Linked DNA regions of Homo sapiens: region 1 is linked to region 2. Evidence: promoter capture Hi-C in human tissues and cell types (Jung and others, 2019). All regions are on one chromosome and are shown on one strand. The core of a region is centred on a gene start or on the middle of the fragment in contact, and the rest is flanking DNA. Distances in the headings are between cores, read along the strand shown. Region 1 overlaps MACO1 (macoilin 1). Region 2 holds the start of RHD (Rh blood group D antigen).

What was found. The method cuts DNA at HindIII sites, captures the fragments that hold promoters and counts their contacts. A contact is called where the count stands out against the background at its distance.
Region 1: a contact is called between a fragment that was not itself captured here and the fragment with the promoter of RHD in region 2, in 1 of the 25 tissues and cell types used here (dorsolateral prefrontal cortex).

Annotation. Positions count from the first base shown.
Region 1 is chr1:25,433,550-25,439,852 of GRCh38, forward strand. The region is part of intron 1 of MACO1 (macoilin 1); the gene reads left to right. Among named protein-coding and RNA genes, the nearest start is that of MACO1, 5.8 kb to the left of the region's middle. RefSeq lists an enhancer at 2,280-2,369. The HindIII fragment of the contact is 4,093 bases long and covers 2,108-6,200 here.
Region 2 is chr1:25,268,076-25,274,092 of GRCh38, forward strand. It overlaps RHD (Rh blood group D antigen), which reads left to right and starts at 4,434. Exons shown (of 10, transcript NM_016124.6): 1 at 4,434-4,620. The coding sequence starts at 4,473. LOC105376882 (a long non-coding RNA gene) reads right to left here. Exons shown (of 2, transcript XR_947099.3): 2 at 1,384-2,057. It also overlaps a transcript of RSRP1 not described here. The HindIII fragment of the contact is 5,221 bases long and covers 1-5,095 here.

The sequences.
Region 1 (6,303 bases), core at 2,904-5,403, 170 kb after region 2:
TACTGTTTCATAGCCAAACCTTTCATGGACTTACTATTTTCATGTTCTCAGTCTGTACAACTTTCTGAGCCTTGGCATAGGAAGGAGGCAGCTGTGGTGAAAAGCGCACTGGACTGCAGGAATCAGGAGACCCAGGATCAGACTCAAAATCCCAGCTCTGCTGCTTTAGGCAGACAGGGCATCCACAGCTTTGAGCCCCAGTTCTCCCACCTTCAAATGAGTTTTGAGGACTAAAGGAGATATGTACAGTTTGTGAAATGCTTTATAAATCCTAGTGTAGTTTACAGATACTATTTACCATGTTGTTGCTATCACAGTTTAACGTGTGGTTAATTTTTTAAGGAGGCAGGAAATACTGTAAGATTTGGTGCAACTGTAAACAAAAGTTGAGTAGCCAAAACAAAGGGTCAGTTGCTGTTTGGTCTTGCTTTAAAAAATCCTGTTGTGGACTCACTTTTAAATCATGGGCTGCAGTCCAACAACTGTTACTGAGGTGACTGTCAAATGATATCATTTATTGTGAGTATCATGGCTGTCTTGGAATTCTGTTTCGGGGTGAGATGCAAGGAAAATTAATTTTAGACATTATGTTAATGTAATCTGCATTTATACATATAAAACATCATTTGAAAAGTGAAACATGCTATAGAAATATTTTAGTCCAGTTAATAATTAAAAATAGGAGAAAGGAAATAGGAATAGTGATCTTTTCATCTTACTAGGGGCTAAAGTTCGATGTAGTTTTAAAAAAATCTGACCCAGCCCAGAGCCTGACAGAGTCGACATTCAGTGTTCAATAAATGTTGAGTGAGTAAATTAATAAATGAATATAAGCTAGTCCATTTCATTCATGAAGTGCCTACGTTGTTCAGGGAATTGCGGAGGATACAGGATAACACATGGCTCATTGTCTTCAAGGAGTTTACAGTCTAGTAGGCCGTAGTAATACCATCTTAAATTTGTACAGTGGTTTAGAGTTTCCAAAGAACTTTAAGTTCTGTTCAAGTAAAAATATTTCTGTTGTGCTAAATTTTAGCTTACTGTTTTAGTGGTTCATCTGACACATTAACAGCTGTATTTTGCTCTGTGCTATTTTATGATAAAGTAGACAGTTGCCACTATATGAGGGAGTCTTTTCTATCTCAAATGAGATAGATATGAAAGTACTTTAAAAATTATGAACATAAGTTATTAAGTACCTAACTCTTATATTTCTAAGGTCCTTTGGTTTTCTGGGCTGGGTTCTCTCCTTGTGTCTGCCTAGACACATGTGCACCAGACACTCCCGATAGTAATATCTCATTGCAGGCAGTGATTTTCCAGGTGAGGTGAGGTTAGGGTACTATGTAGTTTTTAAAAGCCTTAAGGGGATTCTGTATGGTTTACCCCTACCTCTCACCCTGCCATACTTTCCACTCCCTTCCCTCAGAGAATTACTGACTTTATAATATAAAAATGAGGAGATAAGATGTGGTAAGTAGAAGAAGGAGGCAGAAACATTTATGTTTAAAGTATACATATATTCCAAATCGCTACAGTTAAATGGTTATTTATGCAAGTAAATATAATACGAATTTTAAGTAAGGTATATGTTTTAAGCTTCTGGGAATGATTTTATATCTGTGTTACTGGTGGCTGAAGGAAGTACCCTTTCACTGTGTATTTAAGACTGCTTCCTGTCTTCATGTACTGGATTCTGCTTGTAGTGCTGTGTGAAGCTTAGGCAGTGCAGTATTGTACCTGACTGTCATATTTTTGCAGCTTAATGCCTTAAAACTAGGACTAAGAACTCAGCACTGGTGTATATGTTATTATTTCCCATTTTTATTTCAGAGAAAAATTCTCTGGTCCTTGGGGCTCCTCAAAAGTGACTTTTTAAAGTGATTAAATTTTGCATTCTTCTCAACTTCCCAATTTCCTTTTTCAGACCCTTGTCTACATCTGATCTCCAGAGGTTTCATTTGACTGCTTTTTCTGCCTCCTTAATGATGTTTTCTAAGCCTAGTTTTAGACTCCTTTGGGCTATGCTTATTAAAGTCACTGCAGGCTGTCATGACCCTTGGCTGCCTTGATTGTACATGTGTTCTGCAACTGAAACCCCAGATACCTGTGTTGCAATCTCATAGCCTAAAAGCATTTTGGTAATCTTGGTAGGCTTTAACTTTAACAATCCTGGACCTGGCACGAAAGTGATAGATTCTGTATTGTTTTAGAGGAGTGTTGGGGAAGGAGAAATTGAAATGTTTTCACTAACCTGTGCAGTGAAGTGTTTATTAGCTAAACTCTTCTATTTGTGGTTTTCACAAAATACACTTTAAAAATCGGCCACACTGGGATGAAAAAGCACTTTCCTCCAACTTTCATTATGATTCTTCCTGTCTGAGCAGTCTTGGCAGTTTAGTTTCATTAGGTGTTTTGAAAATCCCTTTAAATTGCTGCTGGGTTGAGGAGGGGAACAGGAGAGAACGTGATTCACTTCACATTATTTGCTTAAAAGCTTCCTGTTTTATCATTGATAGTCTCCTTTTTCTTCACATCGATTCCTCATGGCCTCTCTTGAACCTCACTAGATTTAGAGATTGATCTTAATGGTAGGTTTAACAAATAATTATTTACATTTTCTTACTAGTTATATGCTTGTATATATCTCATGGACCCAGTCCATGTTCTGTAAGCATTTATGTTCCTAGAATCTTTTTCTTTGGCCATTTCTCCCAGATCTCCCCACTGATACTGTTAACCCTTTGGGGTTTTATGTATATAAAGTGCACTTTGTTTTATCTGTTTCTAGGCTACCATCTTGTGGAGTTTGGAGGGCAAGTAGAAATTTCACAAACATAGTTAAGTGAAATACTGTAATTAGGTTACTTTTCTTCATAAAATTTAGTGTGCTCTTCAGATATACTGATTAGTTTATCCCCAGGCTTACTAGATTTGGGCATAATTATTTTACTTGGCTCTTGCTCAAGAATTAAGTCCAGAAGAAAAAGAAGTTGGCTGTCCAGCAAGCTGCATAAGTAGGATGGTACATACAACAGTAGATACACATATCCTTGTTAGACTTTTTCCACTGTGGATTTCTTCAGATGCTTAAGTAGTGACTTTTCAAAGCCTCTCACCTTGCATCCTGGCAATGGAAGCTTGAAAAAAGTTAATCAACTTTTAGAGAATATTGAGGCTCTGTATCTTTAATTTGACATTTAACCGACATCAAATTGTCTCAGCTGATGAGCCTTCCAAGGCACTTGTCTTCCCTGGCCTTTGAAGACAGTCATAGTACTGACCTTGATTGCTTTATATTTTTTTCTCTGCTGCCTTTAAGGATGATATGCCCACTTTGAGTCATGGGATTGTGGCACCAAAAATAATGTATCCCTCACCCCATCTCCTCTGTTGCCTTCTCTTTTTCAGAGCTTTTGCATTTAGTGATTAAAATGGTGTGACTACTCCACTTTCATATATCTGTTCATATCACTGATGAGTTTGAGCTGTTTAGGACCGATCTCCCACTCAGCACAGAGGAGTGGCTAGAAATAATCTCATTCTGTTTTTGAATCATATTGTTACGTTGTTCATCTTCAAAACACTTTTTTTTTTTTTTTTGAGACAGGGTCTCATTCTGTCGCCCAGGCTGGAGTCCAGCAGCGAGATCACAGCTCACTGTATCCTTCATCTCCTGGGTTCAAGAGATCCTTACACTTCAGCTGACCGAGTAGCTGGGACCAAAGGCATATACTACCATGCCTGGCTTTTTTTTTTTTTTTTTTTTTTTGCGTTTTTGCGTTTTTATAAAGATGGAGTCTCGCCGTGTTGTATAGGCTGGTCTTGAACTCCTGGGCTCAAGTGAGCCACTCACCTTGACCTCTCAAAGTACTGGGATTATAGGCATGAGCCACCGCACCCACCCAACACTTTTAAAAACCAAATAAATAGCTGAGTACTAAAATCAGTACTTTGCCTATCTTGTAGCAAGAATAGTTGAACATTAAAGAGAATGAATACTATGTTCATGTCCAAAGTAAGGATTCCTGTCTCAGAAAAGAGAGATACTGTCTGAGGCTTGAGTCGTCTTGCTCAGATGTAATAAGAATTTTTGGCCGGGTGTGATGGCTGTAACCCCAGCACTTTGGGAGGCTAAGGCAAGAGGATTGCTTGAGTCCAGGAGTTCAAGACTAGCCTAGGTAACATAGCGAGACCTCATCTCTACTAAAATTCAAAAAAATTAGCTGGGTGTGGTGTCACATTCCTGTAGTCCCAGCTACTTGGGAGGCTGAGGCGGGAGGATCACGTGAGCCCAGGAGTTTGAGGCTGCAGTGTGCCATGATCGTGTCACTACACTCCAGCCTGGGCAATAGAGCAAGACCCTGTGTCAAAAAAAGAGAATTGGCTGGGCGTGGTGGTTAATATAATCCCAAAGTGCTGATATTATAGGCGTGAGCCACCATAATCAGCCCCCAATTTAAAGGAAAAAAAAAATCTAGAATGGAAATCGCTAAAAAAGGTTTTCACGGTTTTGTAGTATAACATTTTTATAAAGGTCTGTATAGACCACAGAGATATCAAGGACAGGTATTGTAACCTAATGCAGGTGGTGAGTTTTAGAATTTCTGTTTCAAGAATACTTTTAACAGTGTGGAGTCTATGGGGTTGAGGAAGGGGAGGGGTGAAGAAGCATAGGCGGAGAGAGAAAACAACTCACAGGCTCTAAAAAAACCTGTTAACATTATATAAACATTAGAAATTCATTTCATAAGGGAATCAAAATTATGCTTCATATAATTGATAGTAATAATCTGCTTAATCACACCTTACATTTCTGTCTTACTTGTAACTTTTCCAAATGTTTTCATATTATCTCATTTTATCCTCACAAGTGTGAAATAGGCAGAGTAGGTATTGCCATTTTATAGGAAACAAACCTGAGGAATAGAGAACTAAAAAGCTGCAAGGCACTATTGAAAGAGTACAGAAACAGAAGTTAGGAGACTGCAGAGAACAGTGTAAATTCTATGTGGAACTCTATGTTGCTGCTAAAATGGATAAGGGAAATTCTATATAAAGAAGTGGACATGACTGGGCCCCGTGGCTCACGCCTGTAATCCCAGCACTTTGGGAGGTCGAGGCGGGTGGATCACCTGAGGTCAGGAGTTCAAGACCAGCCTGGCCAACGTGGCGAAACCCCGTCTCTACTAAAAATATAAAAATTAGCTGGGCGTGGTAGCATGCGCCTGTAATCCCAGCTACTTGGGAGACTTGGGAGAACTGCTTGAACCCAGGAGGCAGAGGTTGCAGTGAGTCGAGATTGTGCCACTGCACTCCAGCCTAGGCAACAGAGTGAGACTGTCTCAAGAAAAATAAAATAAAATAAAAAACTAAAAAAAAAAGAAGTGGACATGTCAAACAGAAACCTGTTTTTGTTAAGAAAGAAACACATTTGTTTATATAGAAAAAGCAAATTATATTTATGAATTATATAACAGCAATCATCTTGGGGCAGGACTACTAAGGGCTTTTATATTATACATTATATTACCTTTTTAATAACAAGTATGTGTTGCTTCTTTTTAACTTCTCATTTTGAAATAATTTTAGATTTAATTAAACAGAAAAGTCACAAAAATAGTACAAAGTACTTACACCTTAGTGAAAGGCATAAGATACCCTATTTATTTATTTATTTATTTTTAAAGAAAAAAAATAGCCAGGCATGGTGGCTCTTGCCTGTCACCCTTGCTACTTGGGAGGCTGAGGTGGGAGGATCGCTTGAGCTCAGGAGTTGGAGGTTGCAGTGAGTTATGATCACACCACTGCGCTACAGCCTAGGAGACAGAGTAAGACTCTGTCTCTGAAAAAAATAAACAAACAAAAAAGGGCATATTTCACACTGTTAGATTTGTCATTGCAGTGGCTGCACATGTACGCGCGCGTGTGTGTGTGTGTAATTGACACTAGAAAGGTTCCCTTTGCAGTATGCAGGAGGCCTAGAATAGAAAAAAGAAATATAGAACAGCTTGGTCTTCTCAGCCTGCTCCCCTTTTTTGGATTTTATACAAGGAGGTGCCTGCAGAATGCAGCAGTGGTTCCAGTTTATTTTATGTTAAGGCTCACACACAAATTTCTGTTTTTTTTTTTTTTGTCAAAAAATTTTTTTGTCTCTGGATCTCTTTACACTCTTAAAAATGATTGAGGCTGGACACTGTGGCTCACACCTGTAATCCCAGCACTTTGGGAGGCTGAGACAGGTGGATCACTTGAGGTCAGGAGTTTGAGACCAGCCTGACCAACTTGGAGAAACCCCGTCTC
Region 2 (6,017 bases), core at 3,184-5,683:
TCCAGAAATGGTAGCTGTTATTCAGCCAACAAATATTTATTGAGCACCTACTATGGACTTCCCTGGTGCTGAGGATACAACAGCAACCACAGCAGTCAAAAGTCCCTGTCTTCATGTTGCTCAGATTCTCATAGGGGAAAGCAAATAATGAACAAATACACGGCCGGGCGCAGTGGCTCACGCCTGTAATCCCAGTACTTTGCGAGGCCAAGGTGGGCAAGTCACCTGAGGTCAGGAGTTCGAGACCAGACTAGCCAACGTGGTGAAACCCTGTCACTACTAAAAATACAAAAATTAGCGCGGTGTGGTGGCTCATGCCTGTAGTCCCAGCTACTTGGGAGGCTGAGGAAGGAGAATCGCTTGAACCTAAAAGGCAGAAGTTGCAATGAGCCAAGATCGTGCCACTGCATTCCAGCCTGGGTGACAGAGTACTCCGTCTAAAAAAAAAACCTAAATACACAAGTAAAAATATAGACCTCGTCAGATGCTAGTAAGTGCTGTGAAGGAAACTAAAAGGGGAACACAAGGAACCCTTGTCAAGGGGAGAAGAAAGGGGAGTTGATGCTGTCCTTTTAAATAGGGCAGTCAGAGGCCGGGCACAGTGGTTCACACCTATAATCCCAGCACTTTGGGAGGTTGAGGTGGGTGGATCACTTGAGGTCAGGAGTTCAAGACCAGCCTGGCCAACCTGGTGAAATCCTGTCTCTACTAAAAAAACAAAAACTAGCCGGGTGTGGTATCACGCGCCTATAATCCCAGCTACTCGGGAGGCTGAGGCGGGAGAATCACTTGAACCTGGGAGGTGGAGGTTGCAGTGAGCCGAGATTGTGCCATTGCAGTCCAGCCTAGGCAACAAGAGCAAAACTTCATCTCAAAAAAAAAAAAAAAAATAGGGCAGTCAGGGAAAACTTTCCTGAGAAGGGGATGGTGGAGGATCCAGGGAGGTGAGGTGGGGAGCAAGCCAGTACAGTTGTTCCTTGACTTTCGATGGGGTTATGTCCTGATAAAGCCATGGTAAGTAGGAAATATTGTAAGTCAAAAATGCATTTAATACATCTAACCTACGGAACATCATAGCTTAGTCTCACCTACCTTAAACATGCTTAGAACACTTACATTAGCCTACAGTTGGGCAAAATCCTCTAACACAAAGCCTATTTTATGATAAAGTATTGAATATCTCATGTAATGTACTGAGTACTGTACGGAAAGTGAAAGACGGAGTGGTGGGATGGGAACTCTAAGCGCGGCTTCCACTGCATGTGTGTTGCTTTCGCGCCATCATAAAGTTGAAAAGCGTTAAGTCAAACCATCGTACGTCGGAGGCCATCTGTATCTGGTAGGAGGAGTGTTTCAGACAGAGAGAACAGCAGGTGCACAGAGTGCTTTTTTCCCAGCATTTTATTATGAAAAATTTCAAACATCTACCAAAAAAAGTTGAAAGACTTGTACAGTGAAAAGCCATACATCTCACAGCTAGAATCAACAATTAACATTTTACTGTATTTGGTTTTTGACTTATCTATCCTAGATCCCTTGTGCTTTCTGTAGCAGGTGACCTGCCTTGAAGATTTAAAGACAGAATATCAGGAAATGTAGTCAGAAAATGGGGCCTTTTATAAGAGTCAGAGGGGAAGAGCAAAACCTCTGCTTTTGACAAATCTGTTGGGAGAGGCCAACTGCAGGGATACCTCCCTTTTTTAATGAAAGCATTTCTGTTCTGCGAGGAGCGGGATCCTCTTGTCAAGCAGTCAGTCCCTGCTGCTTCCTTACTGGGGCAGGATCAGGACGCACAGGGATTTGGAGTGCCTTGGAACCAACCACCACCCACGCCGTTTGCCAGCTGGTAAACATGCCCATCAGGTCCGGGGGTTGGCATTGCCTGGACATCTTTAGTGTTCATCTTGCTGACATCTGGTGCCCTCGGGCAGGTAGGTGCAGTTGGCTGCCTGGTTTACAGAGCTTGTACTGGGCCCAGGTTAGCAGAGGTCACATCCATTTATCCCACTGCGCAGAGGAGTTCCTTCTCAGGAAACCCAGTTTATAAGAAGTACTGACTGCCAGAAATAGAGCAGAAATGAGAACCAGGAGGCAATTGTGAGAGGAATGGAGACTTCTGACCTCTGGGGATTGGGGTACCCTCCCCCTTAATTGCTGTTGGGGTAGCAGAGGGCTTAGAAGCCCATGTTCCTAGACTTTTAGAATTGGAAGAAGACTTAGAAGTAATCTAGGCTGGGGGTCCCCAACCCCCAGGCTGTGGCCCGTTAGGAACCTGACCGCACAGCATGAGGGATAGGCCAGCGAGCACTACCGCCTGAGCTCCGCCTCCTGTCAGATCAGCAGCGGCATTAGATTCTCATAGGGGCACAAACCCTATTGGGAACCGCGCATGAGAGGGATCTAGGTTGCGTGCTCCTTAGGAGAATCTAACTAATGCCTGATGATCTGAGGTGGAACAGTTTCATCCCCAAACCATCCCTCCAACCTCACCCCGGTCCATGGAAAAATTGTCTTTTACAAAACCCGTCCCTGGTGCCAAAAAGCTTGGGGACCCCTGATCTAGGCTACAGTTAAGTGGTCAAACACCCAGGTCCTGAAGTTAGGCTGCCTGGGTTTAAATCCCAGCTCTACTGCTTACTAGCCCTGTGACCTTGAGCAAGTCACTTAGTTTTTCTGTGCCTCAGTTCACTCATTTGTAATAAATCCTAATAGTACCCATCCCAGTGTCATGAACTAAGTTCATATATGTAAAGTACTTAGAATGGTGCCTAGCAAGTACTTAATAACAGTTAGCTCTGAAAATGTATAAAGCAAAATTAACCAATGTTTTAGTGGTTTGCAGCCAACTTTTTTCTATGCGTGTGCTAACATATTATTTTATAAGAGTGGGAATATATTGTACATGCTGTTATATAACTTGCTTTTTCACTAAACAGTCTATCCTCTGTGTCAGTTTTGATAAAAGCGTTTTCCTCTTGCTTTTCCTGCATATGTTCAGAACCATCATATTGGTAGCAAGTTTCATGTCCTGTAGTTTTCTTAACCAACCCCCTGCTAGTGGACATTTAGGTTAGTCTCAGTTTTTTCCTTCTGTAAATAAAGCTGCACTGAGCAAGAAGTGACTGATGCCAAGTGACTAGATGACCTTAGGTATGACCTCTCTGGGTCTTGGTTTCTTGGTCTAAAAACAAAATGACAGGATTCGACTGGGTGATTAAAATCTCCTCTGATCTACATAGGAATTGTTTTCAAGACATTTCTGCATTCCTCTAGTGACAGGGTGCTCACTACCTCATGAGTATTTCAGTGGACAACTGTAATGGTCAATAAAGTATCCACTTTCCACCTCCCTGCAGCTCCTGGCCCTGGCTTTATTCTCTGGGGCTCCACACATTCAGTTTACACTCAGTGGCCAGTGGCTGGGACCATTGTAGAAAATAAGGAAACTCCAATTCCTTCCTTCTTTTCTTCCTCTTTCATCTCTTCCTCCCTCTCTACATCCCTCTCTCTCTTCCTTCCTTCCTCGACACTTACCATGTACCAGACCTTCTGCCAGGCACATGGATGGGAGCACAGGGGAAGTTGGCTGCAGGGTTAGAACTAAGTCCCAAGCCCCCTAAAGCTCATGCCAGGGGACTGGACTGTCCAGTACTGAGGGATGGGGATGCTGAGGCTGGTGGCCTTCCTCAAATGCACTGTAGTGCCCCAGGCAGAGTCCTGGGCTGCCCTGTGAGGAGGTGACCAGAGGTAGAGCAACTTCACCCTAAGGCTGGATCAGGATCCCCTCCAGGTTTTTACTAGAGCCAAACCCACATCTCCTTTCTCTTCTGCCACCCCCCCTTAAAATGCTTAGAAACACATAGATTTAAATACAAATTCAAATGTAAGTAATTTCAACTGTGTAACTATGAGGAGTCAGTTCTACGTGGGTCCTATCTGTATCCTCCCCAGGGCTCAGCTCCATTCTTTGCTTTCATTCATTCTCATTCAATACATTGTTGTTAAGAGCTCACTGGGTGCCCTCTCTGTCATGTAGTAAGGTTTTAAAAAGAAAGCCTCTTCTGAGCTTCAGTTTCCTTATTCATAAAATAGGAGTATTGATCCATTCCTTGCTTTTCTTACAAGGATATGCTGAAGATGACTGAAGTACAGAGTAAAGAAGGATTATGTTTGGGTGTCAAAGGAATAGAATGCCCTCTTTCAAACTGAGCACAGCAGGAACCTGTAACAGGAACACAGCAACTTGTTGAATGAATGACAATATTGGAAAACATACATTTCCTCCCCTCCCCATCATAGTCCCTCTGCTTCCGTGTTAACTCCATAGAGAGGCCAGCACAACCAGCCTTGCAGCCTGAGATAAGGCCTTTGGCGGGTGTCTCCCCTATCGCTCCCTCAAGCCCTCAAGTAGGTGTTGGAGAGAGGGGTGATGCCTGGTGCTGGTGGAACCCCTGCACAGAGACGGACACAGGATGAGCTCTAAGTACCCGCGGTCTGTCCGGCGCTGCCTGCCCCTCTGGGCCCTAACACTGGAAGCAGCTCTCATTCTCCTCTTCTATTTTTTTACCCACTATGACGCTTCCTTAGAGGATCAAAAGGGGCTCGTGGCATCCTATCAAGGTGAGAGTTCATTGGAAAAGTGGTCACAGGAGCAAATAGCAGGGGCAGGGGCGGGGGAGGCCTGTGGTTCTCCAGGGGCACAGATGTTCCTTTCTACAAAATCCCAAGGAAAAAGATTCCCCCATCTTCTTCCGTAGATTGCACCGAAATTCAGCCAACAATGTAAGCTTTCCTTTAGAAGCAGCCTGGGCATGCCCTCTTCTGTGAAGCCTGCCTTGATTTTTCAGCACAGTGAGAGGCATCCTCTTTGGTGTTCCTCAAATTCCCTCTACCAAATGGTCTTCATAATTCTCTGCTTCTCTGCTTCCCCTTCTCTCTCCTCAGTGGCAAGGAATTTTTTTATTTTTATAGATTTAGGGGATACAAGTGCAGCTATCTTATGCAAGCAATTTCATGTTGTTGGGTTTTTGGTTTTTGTTTCCTTTTTGTGGCCTCTCGCTCATTTCTTATTTCTTTTTGAGGCAGGGTCTCACTCTGTTGCCCAGGCTGAAGTGCAGTGGCATGATCATGGTTCACTGCAGCCTTGACCTCCTAGTCTCAAGCAATCTTCCCACCTCAGCCTCCCAAGAAGCTGGGACCACAGGAGGGCACCACCATGCCTGGCTAATTTTTTTTTTTTTTTTTTTTGGTAGAGATGTGGGTCTCCCTGTGTTTCCCAGACTGGTCTCAAACTCCTGGACACAAGCGATCCTCCAGCCTCAGTCTCCCAAAGTGCTGGAATTACAGGCGTGAAGCACTGTGCCCAGCTCTCTTGCTCATATCTATACTAGTTTTCTTTTGGAAGCTTCAGCCTGTTGCTACCCCCCACCCCCACCCCCACCGACCCCAGCTTTCTTCTCACTTAGGGGCTGGGAAGTCTGCATGCTGTCTATAAATCCAGAACCAGAAGGTATGGCTGAAGGGGAGGGTAGGATGATGGTTATTTTATATTCAGCTAAAAATATTCCCAGACTGTGATGAGACAACTGTAAATAAGACAGATGTCCACAATGGTGTGACTTTGCTTTTTTAAAAATATTGAAATGAGTTTCAGGCATCTCAGTGGGCTGATAGGTTGTTGATAATAGACAGGGCCTCCTTGAAGAATGTCCCTGAGACAAAGTTGAAGCTTGAGCCTGGTTGAGTCCTTGCTTGTTCCTAGGTTGATATGAACGGCTAGTTAACTGGAAGCAAAGAGAAGTCATCCTGGGGGCCATGGCAGTGACAAGTAGGACTTAGGGAGGGAAGCCCTTATACCATTTAAGGTGCTGGCCCAGAGAGGAGCCTTCAGTGACAGACAAACAAGAGCTGGCACAATTTTAATTCACTTCAATTTACTCTAATTCATTTCAATCCAATACAATTCAATGCATTCCATTCATTCAACCATGTATGACATCCAATGTGGGATCCAGACT